4 separate regions of the Homo sapiens genome follow, and all the other regions are linked to region 1. Evidence: promoter capture Hi-C in human tissues and cell types (Jung and others, 2019). All regions are on one chromosome and are shown on one strand. Each heading gives the region's core, a stretch centred on a gene start or on the middle of the fragment in contact. The rest is flanking DNA. Distances are from core to core; before and after follow the strand shown.

The links. The method cuts DNA at HindIII sites, captures the fragments that hold promoters and counts their contacts. A contact is called where the count stands out against the background at its distance.
Region 2: a fragment that was not itself captured here is called in contact with the fragment with the promoter of NPR2 in region 1 in 1 of the 25 tissues and cell types used here (mesendoderm cells).
Region 3: a contact is called between a fragment that was not itself captured here and the fragment with the promoter of NPR2 in region 1, in 3 of the 25 tissues and cell types used here (IMR-90 fibroblasts, stomach and thymus).
Region 4: a fragment that was not itself captured here is called in contact with the fragment with the promoter of NPR2 in region 1 in 2 of the 25 tissues and cell types used here (IMR-90 fibroblasts and hippocampus).

What each region holds. Positions count from the first base shown.
Region 1 is chr9:35,788,070-35,792,840 of GRCh38, reverse strand. NPR2 (natriuretic peptide receptor 2) reads right to left here and starts at 1,250. Exons shown (of 22, transcript NM_003995.4): 1 at 1-1,250. The coding sequence starts at 432. It also overlaps a transcript of RGP1 not described here. The HindIII fragment of the contact is 19,498 bases long and covers 1-4,771 here.
Region 2 is chr9:36,193,693-36,198,463 of GRCh38, reverse strand. CLTA (clathrin light chain A) reads right to left here. Exons shown (of 5, transcript NM_001833.4): 2 at 876-913. Among named protein-coding and RNA genes, the nearest start is that of CLTA, 5.2 kb to the right of the region's middle. The HindIII fragment of the contact is 6,945 bases long and covers 1-4,771 here.
Region 3 is chr9:36,073,555-36,078,325 of GRCh38, reverse strand. The region is part of intron 6 of RECK (reversion inducing cysteine rich protein with kazal motifs); the gene reads right to left. Among named protein-coding and RNA genes, the nearest start is that of RECK, 39 kb to the right of the region's middle. The HindIII fragment of the contact is 8,058 bases long and covers 1-4,771 here.
Region 4 is chr9:36,053,104-36,057,874 of GRCh38, reverse strand. All of the region lies in intron 2 of RECK (reversion inducing cysteine rich protein with kazal motifs), which reads right to left. Among named protein-coding and RNA genes, the nearest start is that of RECK, 19 kb to the right of the region's middle. The HindIII fragment of the contact is 5,209 bases long and covers 1-4,771 here.

The DNA of each region.
Region 1 (4,771 bases), core at 1-2,500:
GGGGCCAGTGCGAACCAGGGTACGATAATGGTCATTCTTAGCCGAAAAACCAGAGGCCACAGCACCCGCAGTCAGCAGGGGAAGGCGCCAGTGGGAGGCAAAGCGGGCCACAGAGGCAGCAGGGTACACGCAACCGGGACCTAACAGCAGGTCGGGGTCATGGTACAGCTTGAGGTCCACAGCGCTCAGCGGTGCCAGGTACTCAGAGCAGGCGCCTTCCAGTTCGGAGCTGACAAACCGCAGGTCCACGGGCAGTGCCCGGCCCAGAGCCTCCACAGCTAGTGCCACAGCGGGTCCCACCCGTGGCCAGGCCCAGGCATAGCTCAGGTTGTGTTCTGGCAGCACCACCGCCAGCGTCAGGTTCCGCGCCCCGGGAGGACGCACCCCACCTGCCAGGGCTGCCACCAACAGCAGAAGTGATGGCAGCGCCATGGGGATAAAGCAGCAGCCCCACCGCCCCCAGAACTTGGGGCTGCTCTGGCCTACAGGGGAGACGCGAGCACCCCCCAGCCTGGAGCCTGGGGAAGAGGGCCAGGAAGAGGAGGAGTAGGCTAGGTAGGCTGGGATGCAGAAGGTGCTGGGGGCCGGGGAGAGGAGGGGGAGATGGGAGGAAGGCGGGGGGCGGGCAAGGAGTGGGCTACCAGCCTAGGGCAAGGACTGAGGACTGAGAACGGGGTGGCAGGGGGAGGGAGGGACCGAGGGGGCCTGCGGCCAGGATGGGGACAGTGCGAGGTGAAGAAGCCTGATAAATCTAAAGCTGAGAAGGAAAAGGGGATCTGGGACTGGGATGGGGTGGGGGTGGGGGGCGGGTGGTACAAAGAAACGGCCTGGGGGAACCTCACAGCTGAAAGGGCCGGGAGGGCAGGAGGGCGCTGCGCCACATAGGACCAAGGGGGTAAGGTGGGAGGGTGCCCGCGCCGCGGAAGGACTGGGATCATGGGCAGGCGGGGAGCGAAGCGAGGCCTGGGCCGGAGGGCAGGGGAAGGCAGGGGTAAATCTCCCTGTGAAGGATTCTCCCGGAGCTCCTGCTTGGACTAACGGGCCCGGGCGCTGGTCCCATCCGGAGCTACGGCGGCCCCGCCCGTGTCCCCGCTCCTCTCTGCTCCGCTTCTCCTGGGCCCTGGCGGCCGGCGCTGCCCGGCGCTTCCTCCCGCCCCCCGCCTGGGCCCCGCGCGCGCCGCTCGTCCGGGTCAGGTCGCCTCGGCCCGGCCCGTCTCCGCTCGCTGCGCCGGCGGCCGAGTGCGACTCCCCCGGGCAGGCCGCCCGCCCCCGCCCCTCCCCCGCTGCCTCTCCTCCTCCCTCCCGGCCCCACCCTCCGGCGCCGGCTGCCTTCCCCCACCCCCCACCCGGGCGCTCGGGACCGCCAGGTCCCAAACCCACCCCGGTGAGCACTTGGGGGCTCCGCACCAAGGCCTCGCCGGCCAGCAGGGTTCCCGGGCGCTCCCTCACTCTCAGGGCCTACCCTGGTCTCCCCCACGCCCCTGGTCCCCCTGCCGCCCCTCCTTCCATTTCCATCTCACACACGCCAGCGACCCCAGGGTTTGTCCTCTCCCCCTCGCTCAGCCCGTTCTTCTTGGGTCTCCCCTCTGAACTCCCTGAGTCCCTCAGTGGTTCCAGTCTCCAGGAAGCAGTCGAGGATCCCCAGACGTGTGGTATCCTCACCAGCCCCCTCACCTAGCAAACCATAGCGCCCTCCCGACGGCAGTGCGGCTTACTCCACCGCGGACCATGCCCGCTCCCTGGACGGGCCCCTCCAGCAGCCAGGGGCCCCTGCTGTACACTTCCCACCAGTCCTTAGAAAGTCCACGAGGCTCCTTCTTGCTTGGGACTCAACTCTCGGCCCCCCGCTGTCTCCATGCCCCCTGCCCTCCTCGTGTCCTCAGAGGCCCACCGCAGCCCGCCCGGCTTCCTCCGCACCATCTGCTCAGTCAGGGCCTCGATTTTCTTTTGTCTCCTGCACAGCGCAGGCTGGCGCCTGGGGAAAGCCTGTAACGGACCGGCGGGACACTCCCCGCAGTGGAAGCCCATCCACGCTCTCCTGGGGTTCCACCTTGCTCCCAGCTTCCCTTAGGAAGCTCTCCCTAGGGCCCTCATATCTGGAGTGCCAATCTGACCCCAAGAACAGCTTGTGAGGGATGATCTCATGGTGGCTGAGAGGGACTGCTATGGGACCTTGGGGATTTTTCTCCAACTGTCATAAAGGACATGCACATAAGCCCATTCTCTGCCCGCGCTAAGAGCCACGGTTTCTCTCCCCCCTTCAAGCTATTTCTCCAGAAATCACAAGCTAAGAGCGCTCCTGGAGCCCTGGAGTGGGGTGGGAGTGTATAGGGCGAGGACGGGCATGGTTTCCCTGAGATGAAGGCGACACCTAGTGGTTTGGTGGGGGAAATTAAGGACAATGCCACTTTATCCTTAGGCACGATATTTATTGAACACCGGCTGCCTAGCACAAGCTGTACCTGTGAATACAAAGAAAGCCGAATGATACAGCCCTTACCTTTGAGGAACATGCATTTGCAATCCCTGGGGCACAGAGGCCAAGAGCAGGCCGTCCCTAACAATGTTCTTGCCTCAAGCCCAGTAGAGATGGAAGCCTCAGGACAGCTCCTTCTTTAACGCAGAGGGGTTGGTAACTCTAGTTCCAGGCTCCCAATACTGCAGTGAAAAGGAATTTTGTCCTATCTGGCCAAGGCAAAAAAAAAAAAAAGGAACAGTCAAAAGAATGACGAGACAACATGAGAAATACTTTAGACCAAGTCAACCAAATAGAATAGTTGATTTTTAAGCAACTACACATTGTTTTATGAGACAAGCAAATCCAAAATGACAAAATTCCTGAAAGAATTACAGAATGGCAGGGCTAAGAGGATCATATAAATATATTGTTTAGCCCTCTCATTTAAAGATAATTGAAAACCAAATCCCAGAGAGGAAGGTCGCAGTGTCCTTACTTGCTCCTCTCCCCCAATCCCACATGGCTTTTTAGTTGCAAAAGAGAGATTAAAATGCAGGTTTCATGGTCTCCAAGGAGAGGCTCTTTATAGATATTTTGCTGACTCATGGAACTTACTGTAGAAAGCTGTGCTTACAATATAATAGCCACCAAACCCAGGCAAGTCTCTCTGGAACACCTGCAGCCCTCAGTGAGGATCAGCCACCACTGTCACCCAGACTCCTACGCAAGTACAAGTGCATCATATGTCATTATTCTGAACATTAAGGACTATTCTTCATTATGTTAGGGATTAAACATTCAAGCATCTTGCCTTTCCCTTTTCCTCCCAGTTGGCCAGTTAACTAGAAAGTAGGAAGGGGCCAGGCACGGTGGCTCTTGCCTGTAATGCCTATAATCTCTATTAAAAACCAAACAAATCAATCAGATATGGTGGCACGAACCTGTGGTCCCAGCTACTTGGGAGGCTGAGGTGGGGGGATCGCTTGATCCCAGAGGATAGAGGCAGCCTGGGTGACAGCAAGACCCTGTCTCAAAAAAAAAAAAAAAAAAAAAGGAAGTGGAAGGAGCCTGGTGCAGTGGCTCACGCCTGTAATCCCAGCACTTTAGGAGGCCAAGGTAGGAGGATTGTTTGAGGTCAGGAGTTCGAGACTAGGCTGGCCAACAAGGTGAAATCTCGTCTCTACTAAAAACACAAAAATTAGCTGGGCGTGGTGGTGGGCACCTGTAATCCCAGCTACTTGGGAGGCTGGGGCAGGAAAACCGCTTGAATCTGGGAGGCGGACATTGCAGTGAGCAGAGATCGCGCCACTGTGCGACAGAGCAAGACTCCATCTCAAAAGAAAAAAGAAAGAAAGAAAGGAAAAGAAAACATAAGTAAAAACTAAAAATAAAATTTAAAAGACAAAAGGGAAGTGGGAAGGAGTGGGGAGATAAAAGATAAATCCCCTAATGAGGTTTTTTATTAACACACAGTGAAAGGCTTTTGGTGTTTATTTTTTCATGTTTGAGGGAAAGCTGAAAATATTAAATAAATGAGAACTTCGGTTATGTATATATCCCACTATCCAAGCTATCACTGCTGTCATTGATATGGGCAATAATATTTTGGCTGTATTTGGTGACCATGCTGCAATACATAGAAAACCTAGGAAATCTAGATTCTACTGGCCTAAGCAGCAACCAGCTAGGGTCCAACTTTCTCTTTGTAGCACTGTCATGGCCTTCTTCTAATCCACAAACAGATACCAGCTATAATTTCTTCTGGATAGGGTCAATCAACACCCTCTTTCTTTTTCTTTTTTTTTTTTTCTTTTTTTGAGACAGAGTCTCACTCTGTTACTCAGGCTGGAATGTAGTGGCGCAATCTCGGCTCACTGCAACCTCCATCTCCCAGGTTCAAGTGATTCTCCTGCCTCAGCCTTCCAAGTAGCTGGGATTACAGGCGCCCGCCACCATGCCCAGCTAATTTTTGTTTTTAGTAGAGACAGCGTTTCACCATGTTGGCCAGCTGGTCTCGAACTCCTGACCTCAAGTGATCCACTCGCCTCAGATTCCCAAAGTGCTGGGATTACAGGCGTAAGCCACCACGCCCGGCCCCAAACACCTTATTTCTGATCCAGAACTAAACTGCAGAGCATCAAATTGGCCAGCTGCTAGAATCTCCTATGGTTTCCAAGCTGCCCTGTCCCTTCTTCAAAAGAAATCCTAATCCTGGTTACACTCAGGCCAAAGGTGCCTCAAGACCCTAGTTGAGCTCTGCAACCACCATGGGATTCGGGCTCATGCTAATTTTCGTGATAGGCTCTGATGCCC
Region 2 (4,771 bases), core at 738-3,237, 400 kb before region 1:
CTCAAATGATCCACCCACCCCAGCCTCCCAAAGTGCTGGAATTACAGGCGTGAGCCACCGTGCCCGGCCTGTGTTGTTGCTTTTAAGGTAATCCTTTAACATTTTACAAAAGCCGCCATTGTTGTTAGAAACGGGTTCTGCAGTGAGCCAAGGTTGCGGTGGCTCTGGCGGGGTGCGGTGGCTCACGCCTGTAATCCCAGCACTTTGGGAGGCCAAGGCGGGATGGTCACTTGAGCCCAGGAGTTCAAGACCTGCCTGGCCAACATGGCGAAACCCCATCTCTACTAAAAATACAAAAAATTAGCCGGGCGTGGTGGCATGCGCCTGTAATTCCAGCTACTCAGGAGGCTGAAGTGGATGAATCGCTTGAACCCAGAAGGTGGAGGTTGCAATGAGACAAGATCGTGCCACTGCACTCTAGCCTGGGCGACAGTGAGACTGTCTCAAAAAAAAAAAAAAAAAAAAAGACTCAAATAAATGTTAATCTTTACAAAATTATTCCATATGCCACTCACTGAACTAAGGAATATTAATATTACCAGGTTAACCTAATCAGACTATAAACAAAGATGGAAGGAGAATTATTTAAAGTATTAGTATTAACTTACTGCACTCAACACAGTATCATTTGAATGGTGATTTCTTTAGAATAAAGGTGATAACACTAGGGGCAGGTAAATAACATTTTTAAACAGTTCTCTTTTTATCAATGCTACCTCTCTTTAAATCTTTCCACTTTGGTAGATAACACACCAGCCAGTAATACATTCAGGAAAGTCAAAGGACTGGGGTTTCTTTCTAGGTCAGTCAATTAAAATCACAGGAAAGGAAGATTCTCAATCACTATCAATGAACAGAATCAGAGTACTCTGTACCTGGTAGTATTCACCATTCATTACTCCATCAACAGCATCTGCAAGACATAAGATTTTGGTCTATCAATAAGGACTGGTCAAACACTGGGCCAAAGGGTTGTACAGTAGAATACAGCATCATATGCTGTATGAACCTTGAGCTACTAAATGCTATCCCTGTGGTAGGTGCTATATACAACAAATAAAACCAAGATGTGCTTATATACAAATTTCACCAAAATGTGTACACATCTGTCCTTAAGCTCCCAAGTCCAAAAGCTTTTGATTTTATTTTCTGTTTTCTATTTTACAGTGGTAACAAATGGAAGACTAGCAGAAAGAGAACAGTGTTTCTCTATGAAAATTCTGCATGAGGGAAAAAAAAAAGTGTGGCCTGGAATCACCCATAGTGAGCAGAGACCTGCAGCTTCATCTTTGAGACAGTCTTGCTCTGTCGCCCAGGCTGGAGCAAAGTGGCCCAATCATGGCTTACTGTAGCCTCGACCTTTTGGGCTCAAGCGAACCTCCCACCTCAGTCCCCACAGGAGCTGGGATTGCAGGCATGCGCCACCACGCCTGGATAATTTTTCTATTTTTTTGTAGGAAGGGGGTTTCGCCATGCTGCCCAGGCTGCTATCGATTTCCTGGACTCAAGCGATCCACCCGCCTCGGTCTCCCAAAGTATTGGATTACAGGCATGAGCCACCATGCCTGGCCTCTCATATTTTTCTTAATTTTCCTAGTTGACTTTTACTCCTATATGTCAGTACAAAAATGAGTTTCTTATAGTTTGTCAGTGGCCTTTTACCACTTTAAGGCATGTGCCACCTACCTATGTAGTTTTTTAAGCACTCTATAAAGTTTTGGAAATATGAAGTTTATCAAACTAGTGAAAGCATGGGGGAAGCATATTCAATTTCGCCTCTGTAATAAATTTCTTGGTGTAGAATTGCTGGGTTACAGCTGGGCGCGGTGGCTCACACCTATAATCCCAGCACTTTGAGAGGCCAAGGTGGGAGGATCACTCGAGGTCAGGAGTTCAAGACCTGCCTGGCCAACATGGTGAAACCCACCTCCATATACTAAAAATACAAAAATTAGCCAGGGTGGTGGCATGAGCCTGTAATCCCAGCTACTCAGGAGGCTGAAAGAGGAGAATTGCTTGAACTCGGGAGGCAGAGGTTGCAGTGAGCCAAGATCGCGCCACTGCACTCCAGCCTGGGTGACGGAGCGAGACTCCATCTCAAAAAATAAAAAAAAAAAAAAAGAAAAAAGAAAGAAAAAAAAGGAATTGCTGGATCACAGGATATGTATTTTATTTTTTTTTGAGAGAGAGTCTTGCTCTGTTGCCCAGGCTAGAGTACAGTGGTGCAATCTTGGCTCACTGCAACCTCCACCTCCTGGGTTGTTCAAGTGATTCTCTTGCCTCAGCCTCCTGAGTAGCTGGGACTACAGGCGTGAGCTATCATGCCCACCTAATTTTTTTTGTAGTTTTAGTAGAGACGGGGGTTTCACCACGTTGGCCAGGATGGTCTCGAACTCCTGACCTCAGACGATCCACCCACCTCAGCCTCCCAAAGTGCTGGGATTACAGGCATGAGCCACTGCGCCCAGCCAGGATATGTATTTTTTTATTTTTTTTGAGACGGAGTCTCACGCTGTTGGCCAGGCTAGAGTACACTGGCGCGATCTCGGCTTGCTGCAACCTCCGCCTCCCAGGTTCAAGTGATTCTCCTGCCTCAGCCTCCCGAATAGCTGGGATTACAGGCACGTGCCACCATGCCCGGCTAATTTTTGTATTTTTTAGTAGAGACGAGGTTTCACTATGTTGGTCAGGCTGGTCTCAAACTCCTGACCTCAGGTGATCCGCCCACTTCAGCCTCCGAAAGTGCTGGGATTTCAGGCGTGAGCCACCGCACCTGGCCCAGGATATGTATTTCAAAGACTTCTAAAATTCTACCCACTTGTTCCTATTAGTCTACCAGTTTATATTACTACTAGCAGCACAAGTGCCCCATTTCTTAGACCTTCCCTGATACTAGGGACTGTGCTTGATCATGTTTTAAAATTTTTGCTAATTTGATAATGGAAAAAAAAAACAAACTCATGGTGGCTTTGTTGTGCCAATCTTATTTCCAGTGAGGTAATCACATACCCGACACCTGATTTTCTTCTTTACTGAATTTTCTGAGTTTGCCTATTTTCCTGCTATTTTTTGATCTCTAAGTATTTGCTCTCTAATAGTCAAATATTTTCCCTAGTTTCTCTTTTGATTTGGTTTATGGTATTTAACACTTGGAACAACTTAATTTGTGTATGTAGACATGATCGACTTTTTCTTCATGATTTCTGTATCTGCTTTTATGCTGAAGGCCTTTCCTATTATGAGATAGACAAATACTCACTTTTCTTCTTTTACTTTTTAAATGTCTCTCTTTAATCCACCTGGAATTTATTTTTGTGTAAGACAGAAGAGTGAGATAGTTTTAAATCCTAGATCCTACAGTGGCTAGTCTGGCCAGGCCTACATTATGGTTAATATAGTACAATTGACATACCAACTATCCACTAATATAGTCCAGCCCTGGGCTGGAATATGAGAGACTTTGATCACTACTCCATATACAAAACAAGAAGCAATCCTCATCCCACATCTCCTTAAAAATCACATGCTGTCTGAAGGCTCCTCCAGACCCACTGGCATCTGCTTTCCTCTTTATTAGTTACTGTATTACTGCACTAACATTCTTACAAGAATCAACTGGCTCAAGCCAAGGGATCGTCTGTTGCTGTGGAAACATGCAGAAAGGACATGTAGGGCCTTGACTTACTACAACAACTAAACTAAGCAACACGATGCTTCAGAAGGAAACTTTCTAGGGCCTTTCAGGAACTCCAGACAGAAAAAGGGCCAGTTTTCAAAAGTGAAAGACTGTCCCAAACCCACTTTCAACTTTCCACATTCCAGAAACATTTGAAGTCAAGCAGACCTACGTTTGAAGCTGCACTTGAGCCATTTATTACCTTGCTACCTTAGTGACACTGCTCAACTTCCACACCGATCCATTCTCATCTGAAATATGACACTACCACTTAACCTGTGGAGCTACTGCTGGGATCTGAAAGTGTACCTGGTATACAGCAAATGTGCAGTACAATTAACTATCATGCATGAGATTTCCCTAAACTTCCCTCCACCACTGCTACCAATAAAATTACTTCTCCAGAAAGCTTCCCTTTAATTCACCCATGTCTCTTTCTTCTCCTACAAGAAATAACTTGTCACCGGGTGCGGTGGTTCACACCTGTAATTCCAGCACTTTGGGAGGCCAAGGCGGGTGGCTCACCTGAGGTCAGGAGTTTCAGACCAGTCTGGCCAACATGGTGAAACCCCGTCTCTACTAAAAATACAAAAAGTTAGCTGGGCACGGTGGTGGGCGCCTGTAATCCCAGCTACTCGGGAGGCTGAGGCAGGATAACTGCTTGAACCCAGGAGGCGGAGGTTGCAGTGAACCGAGATCGCACCACTGCACTCCAGCCTGGGTGACAGAGCGACTGTCTCAAAAACAACAAAACACCATAATAGTGCCTTACTGCTGTACTCTCTCTGTGGCTTGTCTCTCCTGTTCTCTTCCCCGACTCAGCCCTCATGATTGAGAGCTTTTCAACAGCTCCACTTGTGCTGCCTCCTTCATGACCACCTGTTCTTCCTCAATATCCCCCACAGCTGGTTACCTCAATATCACTTCACCCAGCTGGTTTCTTCCTGCCTCTAAACCTACGTCTCTTTTCTGGATCTCTTAACAACCAAAGGAGTCATCCAAGGCTTAGCCCTAACCCCTCTGGTTTTTGCCTGTGCCCATCCTCCATAGACGCTTTCCGCAAGGCTGGGGCCAGTTTATTTTCCTCTCATCAAT
Region 3 (4,771 bases), core at 1,605-4,104, 280 kb before region 1:
TAGCTTCAGGGAGAGGTACTACTAAAGGAGATAAAACCTGCGAAATGTGAGAAATCATCTAGTCCAACTTCCTTATTTAATAGAAGTCAGAGGCCAAGGCCTAGAAAGGGGAAATACTTATGGACAATAGCTTTTACTCACAACAGGGGCTGGCAAACTATGGCACACAAGCCAAATCTTGCCTGCCACCTGTTTTTGGAAATAAAGTTTTTATTGGAAGACAGACATGCCCATTCAGTTACATACTTTTAAAATTTTAATTATTTTTTTCATTTACCTACTTTTTTAAATTAAAAAATTTTTTTTAAGACACAGGGTTTTGCTATGTTGCCCAGGTTGGCCTCCACTCTGCTGCCTCCCAAGTACCTGCGACTATGGGTGCATGCCGGCTTATTTAGATATTTTATATGGCTACCTCACGCTAAGCACACTTCTATGGCAAAGTTGAATAAACAGAGAGTGAATGATCTCCAAGCCTAAAATATTTGCTGTCTGGCCCCTTACAGAAAAAGTCTCCCAATACCTGAAGAAAAAGGAAAACGGCACAGTTGCTTCCCTTGATGTCACATCCAGAGTTCAGAGATGTTCTTCAAGCATCTCTTATTTCTCTTGATGTTCATTAATAGACCTTTTGTGCCTAAGTTTACCTGAATTTGTTGAACTAATCTTTTCTATTTTCACATGGCAGCATCATGTGAAAATTACCATTAACCACTAACACTTTAGTGTTAATACCATCTTGCCTCTTTACCCATTTTAAGGTTCAAAAGAATGTTCCTTCATTCCAGTATACCAGCATTTGATGAATAAATTCTGTTACACCTATCATGATTTAATAGACTGATCATATCTCCCTCTTTGATGAATGACTCCTAAATTTACTATATGTAACTCTATCTTTTTACCACTTTAATACTGCTGATTAGTCTGAGAGGGCTTAGGACATACACATAATGAGTTATAGGATTAACTTAATAGTTTCTTCATTTCTTACGTCAGCCTGTCTTGAAGTCTTAGCTAGTCAATTTTTAAGTCTTTCAAAAGTCTGCCATCTGACTTTTGAAAGGTAACTTTCTGACTTTTGGAGGTAACTGAGGGTTCGTATTCACTCCTATGGAGCCTCTTTTGACCTGCTTACCAATACCACACCCAATGTGCCCCCATATAACTGCTCCCTCTCCCTCCCCTACTCATGTTAGTCAAGAATAGGTCAAAACTATAGGGGTGCTGAGGTGAGGATCTACCATAACCTCAAAGATGCAAAGAACATGTCAGCATACTGGAGTTGACAGGGTCTCAAGAGAACTTCAAATCCAAAAGCTGTCACTATCTAGTTGGAGAGCCAGATATGTATAAGCAAGCAAAGGGCAGAGCCAGGGCTGGAACCCAGACTGCCCTGCCAGTGCTCTTCCATGACACTGCACTGAGAATAGTCTGGGTTGTTTTTCTCAATGCAGCCAATGCAAGGTTGAATGTTTGTTCACAGAGTAATCTATTTAACCAGTCCCCTATTTTTAAAATCAGCTCCTTAAATTGTAACCAAAAAAGGTCACCATTTTCTTGAGGTTAATATTATTTTCCTTAAAAATATTTTGATCCTAAAAAAATTATTTTTGATCCTAAAATCTTTCCTCTGGTAGCTGCTCTCAATAACTAGTTCCCTGCCCTACTCTCGCGATTAAATTCCTGAATATTTGACAATTAGTACTCCCAAGCTGGTAGATGTCAGCTCCAATATATTACTAGGTGGGGGTGTGTTAGGATGGATTCAGGAAGAGGGAATTCCAGGTAGTACAAGCCCTTTGATCCACTGTTGGGAGCATATGAACTGTGGGCAAACCTGGCACAAAAACAGAGTAAATCAAAGTTGAGGGAACCCTATGTGATCCTTCATGCCACACTGGTTTTCCTTTTGGTGGGGAAGACCCTTTGGGTGCACCTGGGAAGTAGACTCTGCTGGTCCAACCTCTAGCCCAGAAGTTCGCTCTGCAATTTATTTTCTGCCACTTCAGTGACCCTTTTCTATTGATTTTTAAAATAGGAAACTGGTTAAATAGATTAATCTATGAACAAACATTCAACCTTGCTTTGGGTGCATTCAGAAGAGAGAAATCCAAATAGTCCATTGCAATACAGTGAGACCAGACTATTCTCACAACGCAGTGTCATGGAAGAGCACTGGTAGGGCAGTCCGGGTTCTAGCCCTGGCTCTGCCCTTTGCTTGCTACGTATATCTGGCTGTCCAATTTGATTTGGCTTTTGGATTTGAAAAAAATGGTTCATTCCTCCATTTGTCCACTTGTTTCAATCCTTTCTCTGTCCACTGCCCTTTTACTACTGACTACTCCAGCTCTCTCTCATTTTCATCAATGATAAAGATGATGACAACAAAACACTGATCATATGAATCTTGTAAAAAAAAATTACAGGTTTGAATTTTGGATGATTTAGTTACTTTTGGACAAAGACCCAAAAGAGCACATTTTATTAACTGTTATGTTAATGTTTTATATGCCCAGTACTTTCTACTTAACTATGCTATTACTTAAAAGTAAAGGGGCTACTTTGTTTCTAAGGCCTCAATAAATAAAAATCTGTTTCCTTTTCACAGATGGGTTGAAATTTCTTCCAGTTTAAAGTTTCACATTTCATAGAAGAAATCCAGCTTATGAAATGCTAAGTAGGAGAGGTTAAATATAACTGTTCTTTAAAAACATAAATGTTTTTAAACCTCTACAAGGTGTTTTTTCCTTGTGGATACCATGAATGTCAAAAAGTATAGATGACTAGAATATGTAAGGAGTTTAATGTCATGACTTGGAAATATCACTAAACAAGTGATTATTAAATTTCTTCAGCCTTCCAAATAATGTGTCATTTCAACAGATATGCAAATAAAAATGAACACTCAAAACAGAAATGAGCTTTATAGGTCTAGACTGCTCAGAAAAATTTGCTCATTATCACCACAGGGCACCCAACCAGCTGGAAGCAAATTCACTGGCAAGTAACATCTGCAGAGAAACACAAGGTCTAGAAGACAGCCTAGCACAGAGTATGTGCTTGTGGTGAACTGACTACAGTAATGGCCCCAATTTTTCACATTTCCTTATATCTATTTATTGTACAGTAACTCTGGCCTTAGCCATGTGACTTGCCTTGCTTTGGCCTAGTGGACACTAGCAAGCTTGGAGTAAGCAGTTGCCCGAACTACACTTGCATGTTTCCACTTTCTCTCTTGGACTCCTGCCACCACCACGTGAACATGCCTGAGCTAGTCTGCTAAAGGGAGGGGAAAACATGGAGAAGATCTGAGCTGACTTAGCCAAGGGCTTCCTAAAGCAGGCAGCCCCAGGCTGACCTGCCATCTGATTGTAGACAGATGAGTGTGCCCAGCTGGAATCAGCTAAGCCTGGCCAGAGCAGAACTGCCTAGTAAGCCCTTAGATTTGTGAGAAATAATAAATTGTTACTGTTTTAAGCTATGGAGTTTTGGGATGGTTTACTATACAACATTATTGGGATAATAGATAGTACTCAGAATGAAAACATTCTCCACAGTACAGTAGAAAATGAGCACTTTCTCCATGCATTCCAAGAGTGTAAGACATTTACACAGAGTTTCCACGTAAAGCTGATATACTGTGTTACAAAGAACCTTGAATAATTCTGTTCTCCAGAGTGGGAAAAAGTCTATAAAATTTTTCTATCTATAAAAGTACTGACTGTAGCACTTTGTTACAGGCAACAGCTTTCTGCTCATCCTTTAAGTCTTACCTGCTCTGTGAAAGACTTCCCCATTTCCCTAGGCAGGGTTTTTTCCTCCAGGCTCCAATACATTCTAGCAATGTACTTGTCTCACTGTATTGTAATGGACTATTTGGATTTCTCTCTTCCCATGGACTATGAGCTTCTTGCAGACTAAATCCTTTCATTTTTGTACCCTGAGAACAATGCCTGATACATATTAAATATATTGGTTCAGTGTGTATCAGTTCAATGAATGTTAAGTGAATGAATGACAGAGACAAAGATAATTATATGAACTCTGTCCCAGGAACTCAGGGATTAGTTTAAAAAGAGACATGTAAACATAGTTATGCTATAGAGCGACAAATGCTATAATAAAGCATGCAAAGGGCTTGGAAGTAGTGATCAATTTTATGTGTGTGGAGAGAAGATGAATGGGCAGGAAAGGCTTTAAAGTGGTACCATTTAAACCAGGATTTAAGGCAAAGGTTACTCTAGTTCAATAGAGGTAATGATGTTCTGGAACCAGCTTTTTTTGTGGGGGGTGGTTGTGGAGAAAATCTGGATTTGCAGTATTTGCTGATGTTCACGCTGCAAATACCTCCACCCATGGCTGATTTTAAGTTACAAGCTGGCTTGCAAAATCCCTGAATATTTAACAAGCAGTACTCCCTAGCTGGTAGGGAGCTGGTATTGCCAGCTCCAATATACTATACTTTTTGTTCCAAGATTCAGAAGAAGGAATTCCAGGTGGAACAAACAATTTGTACAACTACAACTAACAAATAAAACAACAGGGTCAATCTGGGAAACTATAAGTAGCATGCTGCTTAAATGTAACAGAGAGAAGAACCAGGAGCTAGACTGAGAAAAGCTTGGGATACTGGGCTGAGGAGCATGAGCTGTGTTCTACAGGGAAGCAACTGAAGGGTTTAAGGAAGGTAGTGACATGGATCAAATTTGGTCTTTAAAGAGATTAATCTAGAAGTGGATATAGTAGATAAGAGGAGAAATTAGACACA
Region 4 (4,771 bases), core at 1,181-3,680, 260 kb before region 1:
ATGTCTTCTTTTGAGAAGTGTCTGTTCATGTTCTTTTATTTTATTTATTTTTTTAAGACAGAGTCCCATTCTATCACCCAGGCTGGGGTGTAGTGGTGTGATCTCAGCTCACTGTAACCTCCACTTCCCAGGCTGAAGCAATTCTCCAGCCTCAGCATCCCAAGTAGCTGGGACCTTGGGCATGAGCCACAAATGCCAGGCTAATTTCTGTATTTTTTTGTAGAGACAGGGTTTCACCATGTTGCCATGGCTGGTCTTGAACTCCTAAGCTCAAAGCGATCCGCCCGCCTCAGCCTCCCAAAGTGCTGGGACCACACGCATGAGCCTCCGTGCCTGGCTCCTTTTATAAGTGGAAAACCTTCAGAATGATCTAAGTTAAGCTGAGGTAACATTTCTTAAAAAGCATTGATTAGTTTCGCAAATAAGCAAGAAAAGTCCAAATACAGCAAGTCTAGACCCTTTTCTATTGACCAAAAAAAGTGGAGAAACCCAGGCTACCAACCTGTTTAGAGGCTGGGGGTTAGAGAGCGAGAGAAGGAAGAAAAAAAAGATAAGTTTATTCTAAACTGTTCTTAATTACTTTTAGTCAACTGGTAACAATGAAAAATAGACTGTCATCAAACCCGTGATACTGGTGAAGATCAAATTCATAAACAGCATTATGGCACATAAATTCTCCATAAAATGCTGTAAGATAGAAACAAAGCTTTTTTTTTTTTTTTTAATTGATGCTGATGAGCTGACAAAGGTTCACTCACCAAGCCAAATGGCTCACTTCCAAATAGGACGTTATGCAATTACAATTTGGTGTTTCAGTAAATAATAAATCATTACACATATCAGACAGACCTTCATGATTACCTGCAAATAGCTGAGACGGTAAAATCCATGAATGCTATGGACAGTGAAAAAGGATTTATCTCCAGTTAGCTTATTTATTAGCCATTTTCCTCCAAAACTACCAACTACAATTAAGAAGTGAAAAGAGATAGAATATCACTATTTTGCAACGCCTAGTGAATTAATGCATTTAGACAATTATCACAATGACTGTTAACATCACAAAAAGAGACATTTTTGGGGGAAGACTTAAACAAAACTAAGTCTCTGGATCTGGCTAAGGTAGCTGTTAGCCATGTGTGGGTATTTAAACTTAAATCAAGTAAAATTAAATAAAATTAAAAATTAAAGTTCCTCAGTCTCTTTAAGCACATTTCAAGTGTTCACCTGGCACATGTGGCTAGTGGCTACCATATAGGTCTAGAATATTTTCATCATTGTAGAAAGTGTCATTGGATAGCTCTGCTCTAAATCTAACTGCCAATTACTAAGAAACACAGAGGAAAAAGGAAAATGTTAAACGACACCAGGGGGATGTGAATAGCAAAGTTTGGACTATGGGAAACTCTATAGGACAAATGATCAAATTAATTCATCAAATAAATTGCAAGGAGAAACCTACAGATCAAAAGATATTTAAAAAACATATAACCAACTGCAATACATATATATCACTTGAATTCTGATCCAAACTAAAAAAACCTTTTAAATAATTAAGAAATCTGAATAACTAGATTTTTGAATATTACATTTTCAAAGAAGTAATAACAGTATTGTGGTTATTTTTTTTTTAAATGACATATCATTTGTAGCTCCAAACTGAAGCTATGGATCAAATAATATGACAATTGAGATTTTGCTGCTACATAAATTTGCCTCAGTATAGTGGGGAAAGTAAAAGGAGATTTAAATGAAACACAACTGGTCATGACTTAATAATATTGAAGCTGAATATGGGGGTTTATTACACTTTTCTCTCTACCTTTGTATATACTTAAAATTTTCTATTATAAAAAGACAAAAGGAAGAGTGAAAGAAAAGAAAAATCGATTGAAAAAGACAATAATGAAAGATAAGAAAGAATGGAAAAGAGAAAGAGGAAGAAAAAACGAAAGATATGACATTGGTAGCAGACTAGGAAAAAGCACAGGGAAGGCTATGCTCTCTCACTCATTTCTTCTTCCTGCAATTCCATCTCCCCTCAACAACAACAAAAACAAACAAAAAAGGCAAAAAACCTACAAGTACTTGAAACAGGTTAGAACAATGGAAAGAATATAGAACTGAGAGTTGGAAATACACTCTGAATACCACTGGGCAAACTACTTGGCCTCATAGGAGGTAGTTATATCCTGGTGGCTAAGGGTATGGACTTCGTAATCAGACACATTTGAGTTTGAGTCCCTGTTCCTCAACTAATTGGCTTGGGACCTTGGTAAGTTATTTAAGTCTTCTATATTTCAATTTCTTTACCTATAATATACAAATAATGACAATACCTTTTTCAAGGGCTGGGTGTAAGAATTAAATGAAATAATGCATGTAAAGGGGTATAGTAAAGGGCATGGCACTTAGGGAAAAGTGTAAAATAAAATTTAGGTCCCAGTTTCTGGTTTCCTGAATAGCTAATAAGCAAAATTAAAAAGTTAGATAATCTATTGGGTCCCTTCTGTCTCTAAAATTATGATCCCATAAAGTAGAATGAATTAAACTGATAAACACATACTTATTAGAAATACATTTAGCTTAAATAAACCAGCAGGTACTATGTAAACTTTCAGATAATAAGGTAGACTTGAATATAAAGTCACTTTTCTTGCTAAACAACTAGTAATCACACTTAAAAAGAAAGATGAATGCTTATTCAGAATACATACTAGAATATATACTATAATTATACAAATCATCTCAGAGCAAAAAATTTAATAACCAAACTTGTATGCCACTCAAGGCAGAAATTATCAGACCATAGGGTTTACAGTCTTGAATTCTGAGAAGTTTTTTACCCATACTTATCTCCTTCCTCTGTTATAACTCATTTTTCCTTTGTCTTTAAACAAGTAAAAACCTTCCATCTTGAAACTAATCTTTACTTCCTGCACTTACTAACTTTTCCAGCTTTTTCCTTTCATTGTACCCATTTCTTCACCAATCAACTCAAAAATATTAACTAATTAGTTTGCATGAGCAGGGACATGAATACAACATAGGCAAATGAGACACAATCCCTATATTCAAGGAATTCATAATATATACAGGTAAGACATATACAAAAACTGAATACATTTTTGTAAGTCCAAAAAATTACATAACTGTAAATATTTTTATTAAAAAATTTTTAATGCCTGCAGTGTGACTTTTAGCTCCCTTGCTCCAGTTGATCTACAAATATTTATTGAGAGTTTTGAGTGTTAGATACTGTTTTAACTGTTCTAGGCACCACGGAATTCATCATAAACAAAGCAAACAAAAATCCCTGCTGCAGGGAGATGTTTTTAAAATCTCCACTAATTGGCTTTTTTTTTTTTTTTTTTTAAACTAAGGGCCTTTTCTCAGATCTCAAACTCCTTGACTTTTCTTTGGCATCTGACACTGCTGACAGTTTCACTGTAAACCATCACACATATTTTGCTGAATATGATAAGCTACCAGCCCTGACTTCTTATCTAAATTCTAATTCCAAAAGTTTTAATTCCAAATCCCTATCTTCACATAGTGGTTTTCACTGATAATTCAACAGCTCACCTTCTCCTCAAACCATATCTTTTCCCTAACCTCCTAGAGTCATCAAGAATGCTGTTTACTCAGTTCAAAATCTAAATGTCATCAAGACTCCATCCTGTCTGCATTCCCTACTGGTTGAAGAAATAATGATTCCTCACTCACAGCATTTCCTTCTCTTTGAAGTGAGCTCTACGAGTTTTAACAGCCCTGGTCTCTCTCCACACCCCTGATACACTTCTCCCATGATCAGGATGGCGACTTAGCCGACCATTGAGTTTAGTAGGGGAAAGTAAACATATGTAACACAGCCCTTACCTCTCCTCCTCTGGGAGTAAGTCTAATTCTGTCACTTAGTGTGTGCCTAGAGATAAAAGTCACATTCGACATCTGTGTAACCAGTAATAGGAGTAATATTTTTGGACCTATCTGCCTTATTTCTCAATTAGTTAAGAACTTGGTTGGGGAAGAATGTTCTTTATTAGGGTGACTATAGTATTCAATTAATTTGCTAAGTTATATAATTTCTAGCATTCCAGATTTTAAGAAATTAGACCTTGCCTGCTGCTGGTGCCTCATTACAAGATACCTCCTAAAAATCATTCACCCTATAGAACATCAGTAGAAAAAGCAAGAAACAAAGTGAAAAGTCAGGTAAGTCATGTTTCCCAAAGTAGCAGAACTACTTTAAAAGCTTCCTTATGATATCATCAAGGGGCCATTTTTGCTTTAAAAAGCTATTCTTCTGGCAGTAAATGTGCAGCAAACTTAATTTGCAATAGTGATTTGACATGTCACTGAATTCTCCGGTAGCCATTTAGATGAGCTGAATCAGTGTCATGTCTTATAATCAGACCGTATCTTGCAAAATCTTTCTACGTCTACATTATTATTGCTTATGAGAAGTTATAGTCCCAGTTAAGTAGTTCTCTCAGTTTTAAAAATAACAAGATCCAGGTTATTACTTGAAGACTCCTCTAAAAGATGATTGAGACTATTGTTTCTCGAGTGCTAAGGCTAGACATACATGACCAAGCCTGAAAGAAAGGTAGGGCTTTATGAATGGGTAGTGCTTCAGTGGAACTTTCATAAACAGGTTCAACCAGAAAAATTCAAACCTACAGACAACTTTTAAGAATAGCACAGTGAATACCTACATGGTCTTCATCAAGATGCACCCATCCTAAACACTTTGCAACATTTGCTTTAA